Regions from separate parts of the Homo sapiens genome. Here all the other regions are linked to region 2. The links are contacts of gene promoters, found by promoter capture Hi-C in human tissues and cell types (Jung and others, 2019). All regions are on one chromosome and are shown on one strand. The core of a region is centred on a gene start or on the middle of the fragment in contact, and the rest is flanking DNA. Distances in the headings are between cores, read along the strand shown.

What was found. Contacts are between HindIII fragments. The study calls those that stand out against the background at their distance.
Region 1: a contact is called between the fragment with the promoter of SRXN1 here and the fragment with the promoter of PSMF1 in region 2, in 1 of the 25 tissues and cell types used here (lymphoblastoid cells).
Region 3: a contact is called between a fragment that was not itself captured here and the fragment with the promoter of PSMF1 in region 2, in 1 of the 25 tissues and cell types used here (dorsolateral prefrontal cortex).

Annotation. Positions count from the first base shown.
Region 1 is chr20:650,152-654,698 of GRCh38, forward strand. SRXN1 (sulfiredoxin 1) reads right to left here and starts at 3,049. Exons shown (of 2, transcript NM_080725.3): 1 at 2,825-3,049. The coding sequence starts at 3,034. LOC107985423 (a long non-coding RNA gene) reads left to right here and starts at 2,802. Exons shown (of 2, transcript XR_001754452.2): 1 at 2,802-3,323; 2 at 3,638-4,547. RefSeq lists a silencer at 2,927-3,486. The HindIII fragment of the contact is 30,072 bases long and covers 1-4,547 here.
Region 2 is chr20:1,116,742-1,121,769 of GRCh38, forward strand. It overlaps PSMF1 (proteasome inhibitor subunit 1), which reads left to right and starts at 1,861. Exons shown (of 7, transcript NM_006814.5): 1 at 1,861-2,161. The coding sequence starts at 2,033. It overlaps LOC105372493 (a long non-coding RNA gene), which reads right to left and starts at 1,707. Exons shown (of 2, transcript NR_136535.1): 1 at 1,643-1,707; 2 at 1,111-1,247. RefSeq lists enhancers at 1,612-2,254, 1,654-1,703, 1,714-1,763, 1,774-1,963, 2,004-2,133. The HindIII fragment of the contact is 13,046 bases long and covers 1-5,028 here.
Region 3 is chr20:1,480,373-1,485,375 of GRCh38, forward strand. The region is part of intron 1 of SIRPB2 (signal regulatory protein beta 2); the gene reads right to left. Among named protein-coding and RNA genes, the nearest start is that of SIRPB2, 8.5 kb to the right of the region's middle. The HindIII fragment of the contact is 3,209 bases long and covers 1,567-4,775 here.

The DNA.
Region 1 (4,547 bases), core at 1,799-4,298, 470 kb before region 2:
GAGTGTTGGCAACAGGGGAGGGTGACATGATCTGATGCATGTTCTAGAAAGTTGTCACAGGAGAACAGACTTGGCAGGGTGGACAGGGCACAGGGCTGGAAGGCAGAGGGGAGGCCTCTGCAGGTATTCAGCAGAAGATGCTGGTCTGGATGATGGTGTGGTGGGGACAGGGAGAGGTAGACAGGTTTGGGACACATTTACGGGGCAGGCCCAAGGGGTCTGGCAGAAGGGGTGAATCCAAGGGCAAGAGAAAAGGGAGAATCTAAGTTGACTTCCTGTTAGGGGCCCACACAGCCAGGTGGAGAGTAGGTCATCCTCTAAACAGGGAAAGTCTGGGGCAGGACGGGTGCAGGGTAGAGCACTCTGGGGAGACCCCATTAAGTGTGAGCGGCGTGGAAGGCCTCCTGCTGCTGGTCCACGGGTTCTCTCTCATGATTCCACAAATGATTATTCAGCAGTAAGGTGCAGCAGTCACAAGCCTGAGCTCTGGAACCTGGCACACCTGACTTTGGATCTCAGCTCCTCTCCACAGCAGCTGGGGCACACAGCCCTCTGAACACCATTCCTCACCTGTAAACTGGGAATAAAACATCCTAGAGGGCTGCTGATGAAGAGTCAGTGAGCTGATGCCTACCGGGCATTAGTGGAGCACTAAGGAGGGCAGCCGTGCCAGGCAGGCCTTGTGCCGGGTACTGGAGGCACGATGGTGGATGGCCAGAATGATGGCTCCCAAAGATGTCCACGCCCGAATGCTTCTGAATGTGTTACCTTACATGGGAGAAGGGACTTGGCAGACAGAATTAAGGTAAGGATCCTGAGATGCGGAAATTATCCAAGGTTATCTAGATGGGTCGAATGCCATTATCAGGGTCCTTAAAACTGGAAGAGGAAGTAGAGGAAGAGGTCAGAGTGATGCGATGTGAGAAGGCCTTGGCCTGATGTTGCTGGCTTTGAAGACAGAGGAAGAGGCCATAAGCCAAGCAGTGTGGGTGGCGTCTGGAAGCTGGGAAAGGCGAGGAAATGGATTCTCCCCTAGAGCCTACAGAAAGTAGTGCAGCCCTGCTTGGTGTTAGCCCAGTAAGACCCATTTTGGACTTCTGACCATAAATAAACCTGTGTTGTTTTAAGCCATCAACTTTGTGGTAACTTACAGTGGCCCCAGAAAACTAATACAGGTGTATGTAAGCAAAGGCAGAGCTGGTTCTGGCCCTCAGAGCCTACGGTTCTAGCACGGAAGGCAGGTGTCTAGACAGGACGTTAAAAGCCAGTGGGCTGTAATCCCAGCACTTTGGGAGGCCGAGGTGGGCAGATCGCTTGAGGTCTGGAGTTTCAGACCAGCCTGGCCAACAGGGTGAAACCCCATCTCTACTAAAAATACAAAAATTAGCCAGGCGTGGTGGTGGGCGCCTGTAATCCCAGCTACTTGGGAGGCTGAGGCAGGAGAATGGCTTGAACCCGGGAGGCGGAGGTTGCAGTGAGCCAAGATCGTGCCACTGCACTCCAGCCAGGGTGACAGACCCAGACAACGTCTTAAAAAAAAAAAAAAAAAGCCAGTGAGATCAGAGCTATGCAGGTGGGCACACAGGTGGCTGCAGGCCCACAGAAGCTCCTAACCCGGTAGGGATGGTCAGGGAAGATCCTGACACTGAGACAGGAAGACCGAGAAAGAGTGAGAAACGACAAGGCAGAGATAGAAGAGGTTCTCAACGGGAGAAAAAGCCCAGTGGTGGGACAGGGCATGCATGGCAGATCCCTTCCCATCTCAGCCAGGCGCCGTGCTACTATTGTGGCAACAGATAAGATGGGACGAGGTCCTCGCCCTTGTGGAGTGCACGTGAGGTCAGGAAGACAGAAAATAAAATGCAACACAAATAGATGTATAATATAATTTCTGGTGGACATAAGTGGTATCCTGAAAAACATCTCGGGCTAAGGGGAGAGCTAGAGAGGCCAGTGACTCTGACCAAGGGTGATCAAGGAGGCAGAGAGCTGAACCAGGCAGGGGAGCAGGCCCTGTGGTTGTCTGGGGAAGTGGCTCCAGGCAGTGAGGACACTAGTGTAAATACTAGGACTGAAAGTTATCGGGGGTGGCTGTAGAGGTGCTGGGTGGGGCTTAGGGATCTCATGTGCTCACCTTCCAAGGGTCGGGGGAAGGGGACACAACGTTATGTAGGCCTAACCTGACACCTGTTCTTGCGGGGCCCCCAAGTTCCTGCCAGAATCACTCCGGTATTCTTAACACCCTTCCTCAGTGGTGGAGCTGACCCTTGACCTCTCCCACTTCCCATTCAGACAAGGGCCTCCCAGCAGATATGACACACCTAGTCCCACTGTCACTGACTGTCACAGCCATGAGAGCCCACGGCTTATCTCCGGGTAGTGCGGTGGCCATGTGCTGGGCAGTGGGGCCCAGGCTGCCTGGGTGTGAATTCCAGCCGTGTCACTTTTTAAGCGCCTGATCTTAGTCAAGCCGCTGAAATCTTCCCTGCCTCAGTTCTCGTCTGCAAAAGAGCCACTATCTACCTCCTAGGGTTGGCATAGGAAACTGAGGGACTTCCTGCAGTTCCTGGACCACTGCAAGCACTAGCGTTATAAGCGTTATCATCACTACTTTAATTATCTCGCCCAATTCCCTCCTTGCTCAAGTGAGGAAACAGAGGCCCAGAGAGGCCCAGCTACTTGCTCAAGGTCACACAGCAGAGGCTGAGCTCCGGCTGGGCCCGGAACCAGTCCGTCTCGCGTCCATCGCAGCGACCTCCCTCCTCCGGCAACCTCCCTCCTCCGAAGCCCTCCCTCCGGTTGGCTGGACTCCCCGAGGCCTCACCCGGATCGTGTCCACGAGGCTCTGCACCTTGGCGGGGTCCAACACGGACGGCAGCGGCCGGATGAGCACGCTCAGCGGCACGTTGTGCACCGCGGCGATGCGGCCCGAGTGGATGCTGCCGCCCTGCGCGCCGCCGCTCGGCCCGGGCCCCTCGGGCGCCCCCCGACCCGCGCCGGCCCTGCCCAGCGTTCCTCCTGCACGCAGCCCCATCGTCGCCGCCGCCGCGGGACTCGCCGCCTCCCCCCGGCCTTAACTCCGGCCGGGCCATACCATTCCGCGCGGCCGGGGGGGGGGGCCCGTGCCAGGGCAGCGCGCGTTTCTCCCCCGACCCCGCCGCGGTCCGGCCTCGACCCCGCGGTCCCCAGCCCGACTCCGGCTCCGCTCGCCAGGTGCCGCCAGACTCGCGCGGGGCTCAGGCTCTCCACCGGGGGGCGCCTCTCGCCTCCCCTGCGCCGCGCGGCGTCCGGGGAGTGGAAACGCCCGGGCGGGCTGACTCAGGGTGAGTTTGCAGGTCGCGGGGCGGGAGGGGCGCGGGTGACGCACCGGCCGGGCCGACTTAGGCCGCGGGGGCGGGGGCGGGGGAGAGCGCGGCGGACCTGCCCAGCCAGGGTGAGTCGGCAAAGCCCGCGGTGCGCTGCTGCCCCGCTGCTGGGGTTCCTAGCCAGCGAGGTTATGATCCCCACCAGCGGTTCCACTTCCAGTCTGGCGCCGGCTGTGTCTGGAGTCGTTCCGAACATTTTGCACGTGTATTAACGTATCTGAACCTCAAAACAACCCTGCAAGGAAGGTATGACTGTTATTCCCATTTTACAGAAGAGGAGACTGAGACACAGGTTTAAGTGATGTACCCAAGATCACGGAACTAGTAAGTGGCCGAATCCGCGTTCAAATCCAGACGGTCTGGCTCCAGAGTCCGCCTTCTACCCCACCGTTGGCTGCCTTGGTTCAGCAACAGTGACTGTCACACGGAGCCCTCAGGAGTCGCGCTGACAATGGGTGGGCCCTGCCTTCAAGTTCCACACTGTCTGTTTGTGTCATTACAACACTACTGGAAGTAGGTGCAGTTATAGACCCGCTGTTCAAGGTCAGCTGAAATGAAAGTCAGGTCACACGAGTCCAAACTGTGGGGCCACTTAACCACCAACTCCAAGCAGGAAGGTGGACGATCCCAGACTCGGTCGAAGACAAGCATGTCTGGTTTGCTTGTCTTCCTTCTCAACCTGAATGGCACGAACATGGAGAAATGCATACTTACCCTGCCAGCTGGAGAAAACTGGAGACGAAGGAGGGAGCCAGGAGTTTCTACTTTGCCTTCCACCAGTTGCTGACACTTTCTGAACCCCGTCTGTAAAATGAAGTCATGCTGCCCATCACTCAAAGTTGTGTGAATTGAGAGAGTGCTCATAGTGCTCTGTGAATTGCATAACATCCATTTTGCTGTTGAAGATCATTTATTTTGGGTTCTTAGTCTCTCACAAAACCTTAGAACACTGACACCAAGACTCCAGCCTTTCCCTTTCGAAACATAATTCCCGTGCGCACCTAAATGATACTTTATTTCAAGAAGTAGAACTGACACCCACACCTCAGCCCCAGAATTATTCAGAATTAGAGAATTTCATCAAGAGGGAAGTTATCCCTTCTAAAACATCTTCCTCATTACAGGAAGTAAGAATGGCAGGATAACAGTTTCTAGAGTGGAAAAGTGGAGCTCTGGCCTGAT
Region 2 (5,028 bases), core at 611-3,110:
TAACATAGTTTCAGGTTATGATTAATGCTTTGCAGGAAAAAAAAAAAGCCAGAGAGGGATTAAAGACGGGAGAAGGTTATTTTGGATGGAATGGTCTGGGAAGCCCTCTGTTGAGGATGGTAGGAGTGAGGGATGAAGCCACTTGAAATGAAGAAGCAAGACATGCAGATATCTGGGAAAAGAGCATTCCAGGAAGAGGAACGCAAAGGCCCAAACAGAACACATGAAACAGGGAAACTGGCTGGGAAGCTACTGCAATAGTCTAAGTGTGAGATGCTGGAGGATCAGACCAGAGTGGAAGCAGTGAAGGTGATGGGAAGTGGTCAGATTCATAATATATTTTGAGAGTGGAGTCAACTAGCTTTGCTGTTGGACCAGATGTAGATGTGAGAGAAGAGGGGGAGCCAAGGTTATTGCACGTATAAAGGGGATGAGAGGACAGTTGAAGGAGACTGAATCAGAGAGGTACAGGGCTGGCAGGGCTGGGGCAGGAGATGGCAGACCACATGCAGATTCCTGCAGACCATGGGGAGGACTTTACTTTTCCATTGAGTGTGACGATTTTGAGCCAACGGATGTGATCTGACTTTTCTTTTTTTTTTTTTTTCTTTTTTGAGACAGAAGATCGCTCTGTTGCCCAGGCTGAAGTGCAATGGTGCGATCTTGGCTCACTGCAACCTCCACCTCCACCTCCCGGGTTCGATTGATTCTCATGCCTCAGCCTCCCGAGTACCTGGGACTAAAGGCGTGCGCCACCACACCCAGCTAATTTTTGTATTTTTAGTAGAGACAGGGTTTCACCATGTTGGCCAGGCTGGTCTCAAACTCCTGACCTCAAGTGATCCGCCTGCCTCGGCCTCACAAAGTGCTGGGATTACAGGCATGAGCCGCCACACCTGGCCGATCTGACTTGTTTTCTAACAGAATCTCTCTGGTTGCGGAGTGCAGTACAGACTAGAGAGAGACAGGAATGGAATGGGGCAGTTCTGAGGCTGATGCCAGGCATCCAAGTGAAAGATGACAGGAGCTTGAACCAGGTTAGTGACTGGGATGGGGAAACTAAATTTATTTGGGTAAAAACAATAAGTGGATTTCATGAAACTTGTTGAAGTAACGGGTGGTAAAAATCATAAAGGGGGTAGGCAAATAAATGATTGAAATTTGATAGTGGGTCAGGAGCTTCAGCTCTGCGGGCAGCAGTTGTGTCTCCTTGGAGAAGTGGTTTCAACTCTGAGCCGTTTTGTCATCTGCAAAATGGGGATAATAACGGTCCATACTTCATAGAGTTGTTGAGAGGGTGATGTAAAGGTTTTAGCGCACGATGTAGCACACAATAAACACTTAATAAATGTTATCTTAGAAGCCAGACTGCCAGGTTCCCATAACCATTTCAGCCGTTCACCGGCTGGCTGTTGTCATCTTGGTCAAATTATCCCTCTGCGCCTCAGTTTCCTCATCTGTGCAATGAGGCACATTAATCGTTAATATCAACTGCATAGAGTTGGGTTGTGAAGATTAAATAAATGAATACAAGTAAAGCGTTTAGAATAATGTGGACGGTAGCAAGCACGGCGAACGTGTTAACGATTATTAAGAATGTATTTTAGCCACATTTCCCAGCCCCTTCCCCGGCCTAGCATACCCCATTTTGTGGATGGGAAGTCTGCCTCTCAGCAAGGTGGCCTCTTGGAGGACGCTGTGCCCGCGTCAGGCGATCCTGTCGACTGCCGCCAAGACCCGGCTTCCGGCTTTGAGGGGCCACGCCCCGCTCGCACTCCCTGGCGGAACCTTTCAGTGCTGCGCTCGCGTTGCCAACCCGGCGCGCCTCACGCAGTTGCGCCCGCTGTTGGGACTACTTCCGGCTTCCCCGCCCCGCCCCGTCCCCGGGCGTCTCCATTTTGGTCTCAGGTGTGGACTCGGCAAGAACCAGCGCAAGAGGGAAGCAGAGTTATAGCTACCCCGGCCGCGGAGCCGGCTCACTGCACTACCCCCGCCCCCTTCTTTCCTCCAGACGCCGAAGTCGCGGGCGCTCATGGCGGGCCTGGAGGTACTGTTCGCATCGGCAGCGCCGGCCATCACCTGCAGGCAGGACGCGCTCGTCTGCTTCTTGCATTGGGAAGTGGTGACACACGGTTACTTCGGCTTGGGTGTCGGTGACCAGGTACGCCACGGAGCCGGCCAGGGTGGAGGAGGGAACTGTCTTCTGCCCAAACTCAGAGTACCGGAGGCCTGGTCCAGAGCGCCCGATTTCCCCGCTTCTCCCAGTGCAGGGTCTGGGGCAGATGGCAGCGTTGGTAAAACCTGCGGGTCGGAGGTTGCTCACCTGCCCCATCCCAGCCCAGAGTCCCTCACGGCACAGCTGGCACAACATGATTTGTAAACTCAAGGGCGGACACTCGCTTCAACACAGCCTGGCAGCCTCTCAGGCCAGGACTGTGTGGATCTAGCATTCCATAGAATGGCAAAGAATCTAGACAGGAGTTTAGCTCCCCAGAGCACTTCTCACCCACCTGATCCCGTCTGAACTCCTTACCACCCAGCCTCGGGGTGAGGGGACTGACTCAGTTCCGCCCTCATACCACAGTAGAGCCTCCACCAAACATCTGGATCCAAGCACAGGTACAGGAGTGAGCTTTGACCTACTCAGCCCCAGGCCAGGGCCCTTTTTTCACCCGTTAGCATGGGCCCAGAGAGTTCACACGCCTTTCACCCTTTACTGAAGGGCCCAGCATAGTCCACTCGCTACTGCCATCCCCAACTCAAGCTCTAGGAAGCAATCACCCCCAGAGTCGTACACACATACACCCTGGGTGTGAGGGTCATATAAGATTTTCTCCTCATAGTTGTCCCCATAGGGCCAGCCCCTCTTCTCCCATCCCCAGGCTCCACCTCTTACAGCTAGGGACGTCGTTGTCATCCCCACAGAGTTCTAGGACTGCTGGACCCAACCCACCTCACTAATTCTTTGCTCTGGCATTCTTCTTTCTTTCCTGTCTCTTCCCTGTGACCCTCATCCCCAACATCCACATCATCCTAGACATCTGCTTCCTGGGAGAAGTGGGCCTGCCTCCATGCCTGCCCCTCACTGTCACTGTTCTCTCACTCTCAGAACCAAGACTAGCCATGGGAAACAGACCACCCCACCTATTGCATCTTGCCATGAGATTTCACCCTTCCTCTCCTTTTTGACTGCTTCAGTTCTCAACTCCTCTAATCATTTTTTTTAGCTTCTCAAATAGAGTCTTAATTCTCCCCTCCTGACATAGCTTTAGGGACCTCTCTTCAAACTTGCTTTGTACATTCTGAGCACTTAGACAAGTATCCCCTTTCCCCCACCCCTCACTGCTGTCCCTATTCCTCTCTGTCTCTTAGAACTAAAGACCAAGACCACCATACCCCTCTCACACTTTACCCCCTCCAGCAGGAATCAGAACACAAGAACCGTCAGGGATTTCTGGCTCTTTTTTTCCCCAGACCTCAATTATCTCACTGGGACCCCAGGTACACACTCAGGATCCCCATTCCCACCTCCAAACTCACACATACTTCATCTCTCAAATGGGCTCTAAGACTAGATATGAGGATGGAAAAGAACAGCTAGCCTTTCACACACACATACCTGGAAGCAGGAATCATTTCACCTTCCCAAACACATCTGTCCCTGACCTTTCTCTTTGTGCTGCTCTTCATTCCACATACCTTCCAAATGTCTTCCAGCATTTCAGACCTTGGGACCAGGTAGAGACAGCACCCCCATTTCAGCGTCAGGCCCCTCTTTCAATGCATAGTTCCCCTAACAGAAATCTTGTCTCCCCACTTGTCTTACTCCAGCTTTTTAATCTTAAGCAGCTCTTCACTTGCCCCAGTCATTTTATTTCAACTTTTCCTAGATTCTTCAAAGAAACTGGTATGTGGGATGGTGCAGGGGACAGTGGGGCTGAGAAGAGGAGTAAGATTTGATTTTGACCTGGGATCTCCTCCATTGGCCCTCAGCTCCCCCTGCCCTTTGTCTTGTCCTTCAGATGGAACAGCTCTGCTTTGCACTCTGTCCCTCCTCATGTACCTCACTCCCCTTACCTACTCCTAGCTAGCTACTTAGACTCTGCCACACTGTCAGAACCCCATCCACCTCTGCTGAGGAACTTGTTCTAGAGGGCGTGTCTGATACCCTTCTCTCCTTGCCATTCCACAAATAAATATCAATCACTGTGGATCTGCTCCTACATTTCTTACCCTCACTCATGCTGTCTGAATCACTTTGACAGTTTAGGGACATGAGTTCACATAAGTCGATACCTTCTAGCTGGCATTACCACCTTGCCATACACTCAAGGCTCCAAAATTTTCAGATGAAATGTACAGAAAGAATACAATCTCATTTTAATAGTTTTTTTTTTTTTTAAAAAGGTCCTTGACCAATTCCCCAAGGTCCATCTAATTTTTCTCTGTTCATGGTGCTATTCGTTGAGCTTCTGCAGGCCAGAAAAAGATGCTGGTTTCAGACATCTTTGGGGAGGCCCAGGAGCCTGGGGAATTAGGTTTTTGTAAGGCATTGCCACCTTTCCTCTATCTACCCCAGCACTAAATCTTGCATGCCCCCGAAGGAATGAGTGTTTGGATTGCAAACTAGAGTGTGGTGTATTTTTGCTTCTCTCTGCCTTTTCTCCTTGATTGCCATTGGGGCTCAGGTTGCACTTGTCCTTCTGTCGCTTCTGCTGAGTCTACTTTCATTCAGAGTGGAAACTGGAGAGGCATCTTTCCTATTAGTTTATTTAAGAAGAGGTTTAATTTTTCAGCCTGGGGCCAGCCAACTCAGCTGACTCAATTGTGTTTTCCAAGCTCAGAGGATATTTGTGTTGCCTCTCCAGCCATCTGCTGTTTCCACCCTTCTGGGGGTGATAAGAAGGAGAGGAAGGTCCCAAGAGTGTATGCTTGACTATACAAGTTGACAGTTAAATGGAAAGCTAGATTGTCTGCTTTCTCTTAGGTTTTGCTTCCTCTGTTACAGGGGAATTGTGTACATAAAAC
Region 3 (5,003 bases), core at 1,921-4,420, 360 kb after region 2:
TTGACAGAGGAAACTGAGGGTCCGGAAAGGTTAGGCAGCTGTCCCAGGATCATCGGCTAGGATTGTGTCTCCCGAATGCACATGTTGATGTCCTAACCTCCAGTTCCTCAGAATGTGATGTATTTGGAGATAGGGTCTTTAAGGAGGTAATTCAGTTAAAATGAGGTCATTGGGGTTGGGCCTTAATCTCACCCAACTGGTGTCCTTATAAGGAGAGGAAATTTAAACATACGCATGCAGGGGGAAGACCATGTGAAGATACAGGGAGAAGGTGGCCGTCTATAGGCTGAGGAGAGGCGCCTCAGACAAACCAGCCCTGCAGACATCTTGATCTCAGTTTCCAGCCTCCAGAATTGTGAGAAATTACATTTCTATTGTTCAAGCCGCCCAGGCCATGCTACTTTGTTATGGAAGCTCTGGCACACTCAGACATCACTCAGTAAGAGGGTGACAGGCTTGATTCAAGCCCTCTCAACCTGTTTCTGGAGCTCTGGCTATTAATCTTCAAATGCCACCCTTCAGAGACATAGGTTTGTGTGTTGCGGGGTTCAGTGTAAATACCCTTTCTGCCTCATGTGAATTATCAGCAGACTGCAGTTCGTGTTAATGTGTTATGAAGTGAGGCTATTTTGAAGATAGGTTGAACTGTTGAGTTTATCCTCAAAGTGGATACAGAGAAAGAGGGCTGAGGCCTCCCATGGATATTCTGGGTAACAAACATCATCACATGTATTCCTTCTAAGAATTCTGTGAGGTAGATGCTGTTATAATCTCAATTTTAAAAACTTCCCCATTTATTATTTATTTATTTTTTAATTTTTTTTGTAGTGATGGGGTCTCACTATGGTGCCCAGGCTGGTCTCAAACTCCTGTGCTCAAGTGATTCCTTCCCCTTGGCTTCCCAAAGTGCTGGGATTACAGGTGTGAGCCACCATGCCCAGCCTATAATCTCCATTTTCGAGATGAGAAAGAAAACGAATGCTCACAGTGGTAAAGAAACATGAGGTGAACCATGCATTCAGTAGATATCGTGTCCAGGATTTGAACTCAGATCAGGTGACTTAAGATTCTGCTCAACTCAAGGTCAGCAGCTTTGTACCCCGAGTTTCCTTTTTGTCTGTATTCCCATCAGCCTTTGTGAATAGCTCAGTCTCACTCCACACATTTGTTTGCAGTATATCATGGTGTTTCTCAGTTGTGAATGAGGCAAGGAGAGTAAGAAGGTGAAGCAAACATTTCCTTCTAAGAGGGTCTAGGAAAGACTTATGGAATTCTAAATTCTATTTCTACCTATCTTCAGCTAGGCATGTGCTGTTAACCACCAAGAATAACTTTCTCACAATTGTGACCAAGTGATAACCGCATGTTGAATCCTAGGGATTGCTTCTGTCCTTGATGTCCTTAGTTCCAAGAAATTCAGCGACATCCACTCTCAAACATTATTTGAGCTAGTCAGATCTGTTATCACTGATCCTTCCTGTTTTTTTCCCTGGCCTCAGGGAGTTTCCTCACACACACGTACAGGACTGTGCCCATCACTCAGCACAGGGCTAAGAATGGTGCCTGTTCCCACCAGCCAAACTGGTAAAACCCATGATTGTCAGGGCACTGGGGAAAGTCCACAGAAGAGAGATGCAGCCCAGAAAGAAGTGTTCTGGTCCACCCAACAAATCTTAAAAGCAAGGCCCCAAACTGATTTTAAAAAAAAATAACATTCTATTGTGAGGCTTCTAACACATGTATATGTAGAAGTTATGACATCGATAGAATAAAGACTGGGAGTGGAGAAATGTGAGTTTACTACTGTAAGTTTCTTTTTTTTCTGGTATCCATCACCTGAGTATTTATTATTTCTATGTGTTGGGTACATTGCAGGTCCTCTTTCCTAGCTGTTCTGAAAAACAATACATTGTTGTGAATTATAGTCACCCTACTCTGCTATCAAACATTAAAATTTGTTCCTTTTATCTAACTGTGTGTTTGTACCCATTCACCAACCTCACTCTTAACCCCTCTCCCTGAGACCCATCACCTTTCCTAGTCTTTGGTATCTATCATTATAGTTTCTACTTCCGTGAGATCATTTTTAGCACCTGCATAGTTGTCTTTCTGTGTCTGGCTCACTCCTTCCTTCCTTCCCTCCTTCCTTCCTTTCTTTCTTCCTTTCTTCCTTCCTTCCTTCCTTCCTCTCTCTCTTTCTCCTTCCCTCCCTCCCTCCCTCCCTTCCTTCTTTCCTTCTTTTTGGAGTGCAATGGCACTATCTCGGCTCACTGCAACCTCCGCCTCCCAGGTTCAAGCAGTTCTCCCACCTCAGCCTCCTGAGTACAGCTTACTTCACTTAACATAATAATCTCCAGTTCCATCCGTGTTGCTGTGAATGACTACATGATTTCATTATTTTTTTTTCACGGTTGAATAGTATTCCATTGTGGGTGTGCTTGGGGACACTATATATATGTATTTTTTTTATCAATTCATCCATTGATTGACGCTTAGATTGATTCCATACATTTGCAATTGTGAATATTGCTGCAATAAACGTAGAAATGCATGCACTCCTTTGATATATTGATTTCTTTTCCTGTAGATAAATACCTGTTCTAGGATTGCTGGATCATATGGCAGTTCTATTTTTAGATTTTTGAGAAATCTCCATACTGTTTTCCATAGTGGCTGTACTAATTTACATTCCCACCAATAGTGTATAAGAGTTCCCTTTTCTCCTCATCCTCATCATTTTTTTTTTTTTTTTGAGAGGGAGTCTTGCTCTGTCACCCAGGCTCGAGTGCAGTGGCACCATCTCAGCTCACTGCAACCTCCGCCTCCTGGGGTCAAGTGATTCTCCTGCCTCAGGCTCCTGAGTAGCTGGGATTACAGGCACATGACACTACACTTGGCTAATGTTTGTATTTTTAGTAGGGACAGAATTTCACCATGTTGGTCAGGCTGGTCTCGAACCCCTGACCTCAGGTGATCTGCCCACCTCAGCCTCCCATAGTGCTGGGATTACAGGCACGAGCCACAGCACCTGGCCTTTTTTTGGGTCTTTTTAACAATAGCCATTCTAACTGGGATAAGACGATATCTCATTATGGTTTTGATTTGCATTTCCCTGATGAGTGATGTTGAGCATATTTTTTCATATACCTCTAGGCCATTTGTATGTCTTCTTTGGGAAATGTTTATTCATTCCTTTCCTTTGCTCATTTTTAATTAGATTATTTATTTGTTTGTTTGCTTTTTTAACTGTTGAATTGTTTGAGTTCCTTGTATATTCCAGATATTAGTCCCTTGTCAAATGGGTACTTTGTGAATATTATCTCTCATTCAGGAGGTTGTCTCTTCACTCTTTTGATTATTTTTCTGCAGTGCAGAAGCTTTTTAGTTTAATATAGTCCCATTTGTCTTTTTTTTGCCTTTGTTGCCTGTCTTTCGAAGTCTTAGCCACAAAACCTTTGCCTAGAGCAATGTCTTGGAGTGTTTTCTGATTTCTTTGTATTGTTTTTCAGAATTATCTTGTATCTTACTGATCTTCCTTAGTATCGATATTTTGTGTTCTTTTTCTGGGATTTTGTAAATTTCTTCTTGATTGGGATGTGTATTGGTATAATAGACCAAGGGCATAGAATACATAGACCAATGGTATAATAGACCAATGGCACAGAATAGAAAACACAGAAATAAATCCATGTATTTACAGCCAATTGATTTTTGGCAAAGGTATCAAGAATACACATTCAATAAATGGTGCTGGAAAAACTGGATATCCATATGCAGAAGAATAAAGGTAGACTGCTATTTCTCACCATATACCAAAATCAACTAAAGATGAATTAAAGATCTAACTGTAGGACCTAAAACTATAAAAACTACTAGGAGAAAACAGGGAAGGGACTCCAGGACACTGGTATAGGTAAAGATTTTATGACTAAGACCTCAAAAGGGTCAGGCAACTAAGACAAAAATAGACAAATGGGACTATATTAAACTAAAAAGCTTCTTCATAACAAAAGCAACTATCAACACAGTGAAGAGACAAACTCTTGAATGAGAGAAAATATTTGCAAAGTACTCACCTGACAGGGGACTAATCTAATATCCAAAATATACAGGAAACTCAAACAACTCAACAGTTAAAAAAAATCTCATTAAAAAGTGGGCAAAGGACATGAATCAACATCTCTCAAAAGAAGACATACAAATGGCCAACAGGCACATGAAAAAATGCTCAACATTACTAATCATCGGGGAAATGCAAATCAAAACCACAATGAGATATCATCTTACCCCAGTTGGAACGACTGTTAAAAAGGCAACAATAAAAAAAAAAAACAAAATAAATAAACAAACCACCACAAATATATGCTGGTAAGGTTGCAAAGAAAAGGAAACTTTATACATGGTTGGTGGGAATGTAAATTAGTACAGCCACTATGAAAAACAGTATGGAGACTTCTCAACAAACTAAAAATAGAAATGCCATATCACCCAGCAATACCACTACTGGATGGCCAGTATGGAATACTATTTGGCTATAAAAACAAATGAAATTCTGTCATTCGTAGCAACATGAATGAAGATGGAGTTCATTATGTTAAGTGAAATAAGCCAGGCACAGAAAGACAAACATCACATGTTTTCACTCATACGTGGAAGCTAAAAAAATTGATCTCATGAAAGCAGAGGGTAGAATGATACCAGACGTGGGGAAAAGTGAGTGTAGGGAGAGGGGCATGAGAGAGATTTGTTAATGGGTACAAACATACAGTTAGATAGAAGGAATAAGATCCTGCCATTTGATATCAGAGTATGGTAACTGTAGTTAACAACAATGTATTGTAGATTTCAAAATAGCTTGAAGAGAGGACTTAAAATGTTCCTAACACAGATAAATGAAAAATACATGAGGTGATGGATATCCTAAATACTTTGACTCATTTATTACACATCCTATGCATGGAACAAAGTATTACATGAACCCCATAAATATGTACAAATGTTAT